Regions from separate parts of the Homo sapiens genome. Here region 1 is linked to region 2. The links are contacts of gene promoters, found by promoter capture Hi-C in human tissues and cell types (Jung and others, 2019). All regions are on one chromosome and are shown on one strand. Each heading gives the region's core, a stretch centred on a gene start or on the middle of the fragment in contact. The rest is flanking DNA. Distances are from core to core; before and after follow the strand shown.

What was found. The method cuts DNA at HindIII sites, captures the fragments that hold promoters and counts their contacts. A contact is called where the count stands out against the background at its distance.
Region 1: a contact is called between a fragment that was not itself captured here and the fragment with the promoter of C5 in region 2, in 1 of the 25 tissues and cell types used here (H1 embryonic stem cells).

Annotation. Positions count from the first base shown.
Region 1 is chr9:120,728,417-120,732,192 of GRCh38, reverse strand. No RefSeq gene overlaps it. Among named protein-coding and RNA genes, the nearest start is that of MEGF9, 16 kb to the right of the region's middle. The HindIII fragment of the contact is 5,003 bases long and covers 1-3,776 here.
Region 2 is chr9:121,048,320-121,052,067 of GRCh38, reverse strand. It overlaps C5 (complement C5), which reads left to right and starts at 1,793. Exons shown (of 41, transcript NM_001735.3): 1 at 1,793-1,886. The coding sequence starts at 1,822. The HindIII fragment of the contact is 13,591 bases long and covers 1-3,748 here.

The sequences.
Region 1 (3,776 bases), core at 475-2,974, 320 kb after region 2:
AGGGGGCTCCTTGAGAAGAACACTGTGCTTTGGGGGAGCAGCAGACAAGCCCCCCTGAGGTCATCTGGCTTAGAAACAAACCTGGGATGGGTGTTTCCTGTTGGATTGGAGAACTGACTGAGCTGCAGTTACAGTGGAGTTGCCCCAGTGGGCATCTGGCCTTCACAGTTAGCACCATGATGATGCTGTGATTTCTGCTTTGCTGTGGCTCTGTTTCTCTGGAAGCGGAATCATCACCATGATTTAACCTTTAGCCCAGCTCAGCGCACTAGACTGTGGCTCAGACCAAAACTTCCTTTCAGATTTTCTCTCTCTCATTTGCTATATTCTACCCATTCCAGCTTTTTTCTCCCTCTCAAACACATACGAAGCTTGTGTCTGTCTATGAGACTTTGCATTTACCATTCTGTCTCCCTGGTCTTCCCCAGCCTGCCTCCTCGTTCTCATTCAGGCCTCAGCTCAATGTGTACCTTCTCCCAGATGGCTTCCTTGACCATGCTTGTGAAAGTGACATGCCACCCCGGAGTCATTTTCTATCCCATTATTAGTCTGTGTTTTCTTCTTAGCACTGTCATTTTCTGAAATTATCTGATTTATTTAGGTACCCATATACTCTCTGGCTCCCTAACCAGAACATAAACTCCATGAGAACAGCAACAGAGCCTTTCTGTTCTCTGCTAAGAGCTGAGAATAGTGCTGGCACATACAGGGGATCCATCCAAGGATCACAGGCAGAGCCGTCCTTGCTTTTCCTCATTTGGCTTTAGAGTTTTTCTCCTAAGTGGTATACAGATATTGGCTTGGCAGGGAACAGAGCCAGGCAGCCAGTCCTGCATGCAGACCAGGGTTCCCGCCTAATTTAGCAGCTTCACAAGGGGTGTGGCCTGGGCTCCAGGGATCTGAGCTGGACCCAGTAGACAGAAGTTCACAGAGATGGGCTTTAGTGTAATAGCAAAAGGACTTGAGAACAGAGCTGACAGGAGACAGAATGGGAACGCCGATGCTTAACTGCACCAGTTCCATGCCCATCCATCCCCCTGTGGTCCACTCGCCACCCTCTGCTTCTGTGCAGCCTGCCCACACACCTGCAAGCTCACTGAGCTCATTGGTCACTGGAACTGCTTCCCAGCACAGAGGGTGGGGATTCGGCATCACTGGGGGAACTAAATTGGATGGTCTCTGTGGGCCATTTCATCTCCTATTTCAGGGGCTTGGCTGAGAGCAGTTTATTTCTAATCCTGAGGACTGCAGGGCCTCCAGGGAGGAGAGGGTGACAGACTGGGTTAAGCTGTTAATGGTGCTCTGGGGTTAAAGCTCAATGACCCACAGTGCCAGTGCACTGATTAGTGACCACATCCGCCCACCTGCTGTTTGCTTAGCAGGGAGAGCTGCTCTTCTGAATCAGGAATGCAGCACCAAGAAGAAATATGCATTCCAGGCCTGGTTCTGCTGCCAAGTTATCATGTGAGCTTGAATGAGTCCTTTCCTGCTCTGAGCCTTGGTGTGTCTTCCTGGAAGAATGTTTGGATTAGACCTAGATGCTTTTTTTTTTTTTTTTTTTAGATGGAGTTTCGCTCTTGTTGCCCAGGCTGGAGTGCAATGGCACGATCTTGGCTCACTGCAACCTCTGCCTCCTGGGTTCAAGCGATTCTGCTGCCTCAGCCTTCCAAGTAGCTGGGATTACAGGCATGTGCCACCACGCCCAGCTAATTTTGTATTTTTAGTAGAGATGGGGTTTCTCCATGTTGGTCAGGCTGGTCTCGAACTCCTGACCTCAGGTGATCTGCCCGCCTTGGCCTCCCAATGTGCTGGGATTACAGGCGTGAGCCACCATGCGTGGCCTGACCTAGGTGCTTTTTAAGGCCATCTCTTCTAACTCTAACGTTCTAGGATTAACTGGTGAACCTCACACATGAAAAAAGTTCCATCCATGGCAAGAGCTCATGCCCAGGCTCCAATTCTTCAGCAGATCCTCTTTCTTAGCTGACAGCCTGGAATGGAACCAAGACCCCTGACCTCTGTCATCGGCAGCTCAAGTCTTCTCGGAGAGTCTGTGTTTATTCACAGCTCTGGCTGGGCAGCTGAAAAAAGTATGTGATCTGTCAGTGGACAGATCCTGAGCTGTCCATCAGGAGGGAGATGAGCTAAGTCTAGAAGCCACCTGGGGGCTGTCCCACCAGCGCCCCCAACAGGTCTACTCATCCAAAGGGCAGGAAAGGGACTTTGTGCCTCTGCCTTTGATGGTGTAAGGACTCCTTGGGCAACATTTATGCCAAGACCTCGCTGTATTTGGCAGCCTTAGGGAAGCCTCCCTGTGGTCTTAAACCTGGAGCAGGAAGGAAGTGTAATGACAAGAAGCCTTTTCGTGAGGCCCATGACTATTTCATGATGTGATAGTTTCACTGCTGATAGTTTCACTGCACTTTCCTGAAACTCAACTCATCTTTGGCACAGCCATGTAGGAAGATCAGGGAAGCCTGACACTGCATTCTGGGGCCATTCTTTGTCCTGAGCCAGCAATTTCTTTTTCATTCTGTAGGGTTCTTGTAGGAATGAAAGATTCAGAAAGCCCAATAGTTGAGTAAACATTTCTCAAGCATCTTCTCTGAGCTAACCCCAACTTGGGAACTGGGGATTAAAAATGAATTTATTAACTTTTTAATGTTCTGTGCAACATATACACCTACACAGACACAGGGCATAGATTCTCTATTCATAGATGAATAGGCTTTTCACAAAGCATAAATCTTTTAGATCACTGCTAAATGGACTGATACACTGGCTTTAAGGGAATATACTTCTCATGTTTGAAAAAAATATTTTTAAAAAGTCAGACATAGTCCCTGCTCTCAAGCAGTTTGGGTAAAATCCTTTCATCCCTTTGAGCTTCAGTTCTGCAAAATGGGACTGTTGATCCCATCAAGGGCTGCTAGATTTAATGGATCAAATCACAAGATGCCTAGTTAAATTTGAATTTTAAATTTAACTGGACATCTTGCATTTTATCTGGTAATCCTAGCCCTGCCCAAACTAGGACTTTTATAAGGTACAGAAGGAATAATATGTGAATTAATAATGTACAACAGTGCTTTACAGTTTACGGAGTTCTGTGTCAGCGAGAAGGGTTTGGATTGAATGACTTTGATGTAAGGGGATCTCTTGCAGGCTTATGATTGTATTCTCATGATGAAGATCCTGAGACATGAGGAGAAAGACTCAATGCTGCATCCCTTGAGAACACTTTTAATTCCAGGACAGTGAATACAAAACCCTCAATGGCAAAAGATGGAGCCTGGAGCAGCGCATGTGAGAAAGCCCTGGGGTTTTTGGCTCACAGAAAAATCAAAACGGGACCCCTTAGGATGTAAACTCCATCTGCGTCTTCTGGCCACATCCTGGAAAGGATGGTATCCAGAATGCTGTCATTACTCAGACTCCCACTGGAACATTAAAAGGGACAGGAATGGGCCTGGTTCAAGGAGCTTGAAACCAGTGAGTGTCCTGGCAGGGACAGGAGTGATGAGAAGCGTCTGAACTGGAGATCTGTGGACTCAGGGGACATAAGCCATGGGCTTCCCATCCAGCATGGGTCCTGCTTTCTGGAAGGTGCCACTGCCATCCGAGGTTGCCAGCAAGCCTTTGTTTTGGTAAAGGGCCCCAAGGTGACATTCTTTTTCGGTCACTGTCCAGCTCGGAGAAGTGGAACACCAACAGTAGCAGCGATTGTTCAAAATGTGAAGGCTGAAAAAGGCCTTAGAATCCCCACTCTTTTATTT
Region 2 (3,748 bases), core at 544-3,043:
AGATCCATCATTCTCTAAATGTTTTCTACCAGAGAAACAGGACAATGGCTTGCAAATATTGGTTATCAGTATTTACTCTATAGCTCAAGCAAACAAACTTATTTGCACTTAAAATACAAATATTACCTACCTTGATTTGAGTGTTGTTGTTCTCTCTTAAATTTCATTTCCCAAAAATGATGGCAAAAGTACTGTTTGTTTTAACTTGACCCATCTTTTGCAACCCAGCTTAATCATTTCACAGATTCCCTTTTGAAATAAATGGGCTAGATGATCAGACAATAGTGGCAAATGTTTGTCATTTCAATGACATATGCAAGAGATACCTTTAGTGAAATTTGTATATCAAATTTCCCTTTGTGCTCCTTTTTTCCCTAGTGAATTCAGCATTAAAGTGTTTATAAATATTTTTGGTTTATTATTTATTAATTCAAAGCAAAGAATGCCAATGTGACCATAAATATCTCATTTATATATCATAAATATCTCATTATAGAAATATGTTTAGAGACATCTGTTTTATTATTTTAAAGAAGAGTACATATTATATATTAAGGTAAAAATAGTACTAAAAAAGAGAAGGTAGTAAATAAAAAAATTCTAATGAACATAAAACATCATAAAAATTAACTTAATTAAAAATCAGCCAGGCACAGTGGCTCATGCCTGTAATCCCAGTACTTTGGGAGGCCAAGGTGGGTGGATCACCTGAGGTCAGGAGTTCGAGACCAGCCTGGCCAACACGGTGAAACCCTACCTCTACTAAAAATACAAAAAATTAGCTGGATGTGATGGGACATGCCTGTAGTCCCAGCTACTTGGGAGGCTGAGGCAGGAGAATGCCTTGAACCTGGGAGGCAGAGGTTGCCCTGAGCCAAGATAGTGCCACTAGACTCCAGCCTGGGCGACAGAAAGAGACTCTGTCTCCAAAAAAAAAAAAAAAAGTATAAAGATAAAATTTTAGTATATTGTGAATTAATTACTAGACTCAATTGTTATAGGAAGCTTTGTTTTTCTGGAGCTCTTATATTAAAATTATTAAAATCCTCACTGAAAAGTATAACATGTGTTTTCTTTAAAAGAAAGATATTCTATATCTGAATAAAGACAAACTTTGAACGAGTGGTATATGCCTTAATAAATATTGGAGAATATCTATTCTCCAATACTTAGAGAATGACGACAGCATCCTCCACATGGCGTTTTCATTGCCAGTCACAACTTTCCTCCACCTAGTGTTCTCTAGACTGAGACAGACCAAGGAACAATTCCCTAGACCTCCTTTGCAGAGCTAGGTTATGCTCAGACCATTTGCAGCACCAAGGACACTGCCATTCAGGTCACCAAAAAAAGATCATCTTGTGAGCCCTGTCTAAACCAGGCCCCTTCTAAAATCATTTCAGTGTGAAACTGAGTCCAGGTGGGTCTTCATCAGTATTAGAGTGGACCTGCCAGATGTATGCTTGCAGATGATGCAACATCAAAGCAAATGCCCTGGGCAAGAGAAGAAAGGCCAAAGCAATGGGCTTACTGGTTTCTAGCTTTGAGCCACTCTTCATAGTGCCAAATTCCCATTTTAGGGTCCCTTTATTTGTATTAATAAAAATAAATTCCCTGGGTGTAAGTTCCTGTAAAGTACTCCCTATCTGTATTCCTGGGCATGAAAGGGTGTTTTAGTTCCAATTCTAGTTTTCCCACTTAGAGGTTCACCTTTCTGACATTAATAATTAACCAGATTATCTGAATTCTTCAAGTTCAGTTTATTTAAAAGGAGACTATCCTCAAAAGTGTTATATCCGTGGTTTCCTGCTACCTCCAACCATGGGCCTTTTGGGAATACTTTGTTTTTTAATCTTCCTGGGGAAAACCTGGGGACAGGAGCAAACGTAAGTAAAACAAGCTATCTTCATTTTTCAATGCATCTTAGTTATGACGAATGAAGAGTTAAATTTAACAGATTCTGTTAACTTGAAAATAACTTGCTACTTCTGAGAACAGCAAGTGAATAGTATCATCTCTGAATGAGAAAGTCATGGAAGCATTTTGATTTGATGAGTAGCTAACAACATGACAGCTTTTATGGAATTGTTATTTATTAAAATTTACGTTAAGTGATTATTCAAATTCCTCTTCAAAAAAGCACAAAAGAAACTCCAGATAATAAACTTTCTTGACATTTTTTGCTTATTTTAACTTGGTGTTTAGTTTTCTTTGTGTTTTTCATAGACTATACACAGTTAAACCAGGGTTATTTAGGAGTCAATCTAATACTGTGATCTGAAAATCTGTTGTTGTAGTGACTTCTACCATACATTTATGAGCTGACTTTTCACAATTTTTAGTGTCATTATTGAGATAATATGCATTTTAAGTAATGTTTTAAAAATAATGATCTTATATCTAGAAATATTTTAATACTGAAAAGTAACTGCAGATCATCTAATCAAACCTATTCATTTTATATATGAGAATAAGTCCAGATAAGGGAAGTGACTGACCAAAGGTCACAGTTCTAGAGAGAGAGAAACAGGATTTTTATTAAGGTCTCCTGTTTATCACTTCAATTTTTTTCATTTTGTCATAAATGTATACATGTAAATATATTATATATAAACACATACTTAGGATGTCATTCTTTTTTAGCACCCTCGTATTTCTGATCTGTGATCTTTTTACATGGCCACAAGCACTCAACTACCTTAGCATCCTGCCTTTATTCTTTTTGAAAGACGAGCAGCTAAGGCTTAGAGAGACTGAAATTAAGTGACTTCAAATTGGTGGCAGAACTAGGGCTAGGACCTGGGTTCCATGATTCTTGTCCAGACTTATTCTGAATTCTTTCTACTAGCCCTTAATAAAAATTATTTCCTCACTTTCTCTGAAGAAGTCAGAGTGTACCATTTACAACATGGCAATCAATCACTTTAATTAATTGGTTGATTGATTGATTCAACAAATATTTATTGAGCATCTAAACATATGATAGGCACTGCAGATATAGCAAACGGTAAGACAATTCCTAGAGCTTGCATTCTAGTGGGAGAAGCAAGTAATGAATGAATGAACCAATGAAAGAATGTGTAAGGTCAGGTAGGTAGTATTATGAAGAAAAAAATAAAGCAGAGTATGAGAATTAAAAAATAATTATGGGGCACTATTTTAAAATGTGGCCAGGAAAGGTTCTCTTAAGGAGGCTGCACTCAAACAGAGCCTGAAGGAAGTGAGGAAGCAAACCATGCAAATATTTGAGGAAAGAGCATTCCAGATAGAGGCCAAAATAACATTCTTGCCTCTCTGCAAGCTCCTGCTCCTCTGCAGCAATTGAAAGACAAAGAAAACTATGAAATTATTTATATGGATAGATTATGCTACTGATAAGTCAATAAGAACCAAAATCTTTATAAAGGGTGGTTCCAGAATATTCTTTTAGGGGCTTCTAAACACTATGTATTTTTGCTTGACGGCTACCATCACATAGACCAGCAGTCCCCAACCATTTTGGCACTAGGGACAGGTTTTGTGGAAGACAATGTTTCCATGGACCAGGATTGGGGTGGGGATGGTTTCAGAATGAAACTGTTCCACTTCAGATCATCAGGCATTATATTCTCATAAGGAGCTTGCAATCTAGATCCCTCGCATGTGCGGTTCACAATAGAGTTCATGCTCCTAGGAGAATCTAATGCCACCACTGATCTGACAGGAGGCAGAGCTCAGGTGGTAATGCTCCTTTGCCCCACTGCTCACC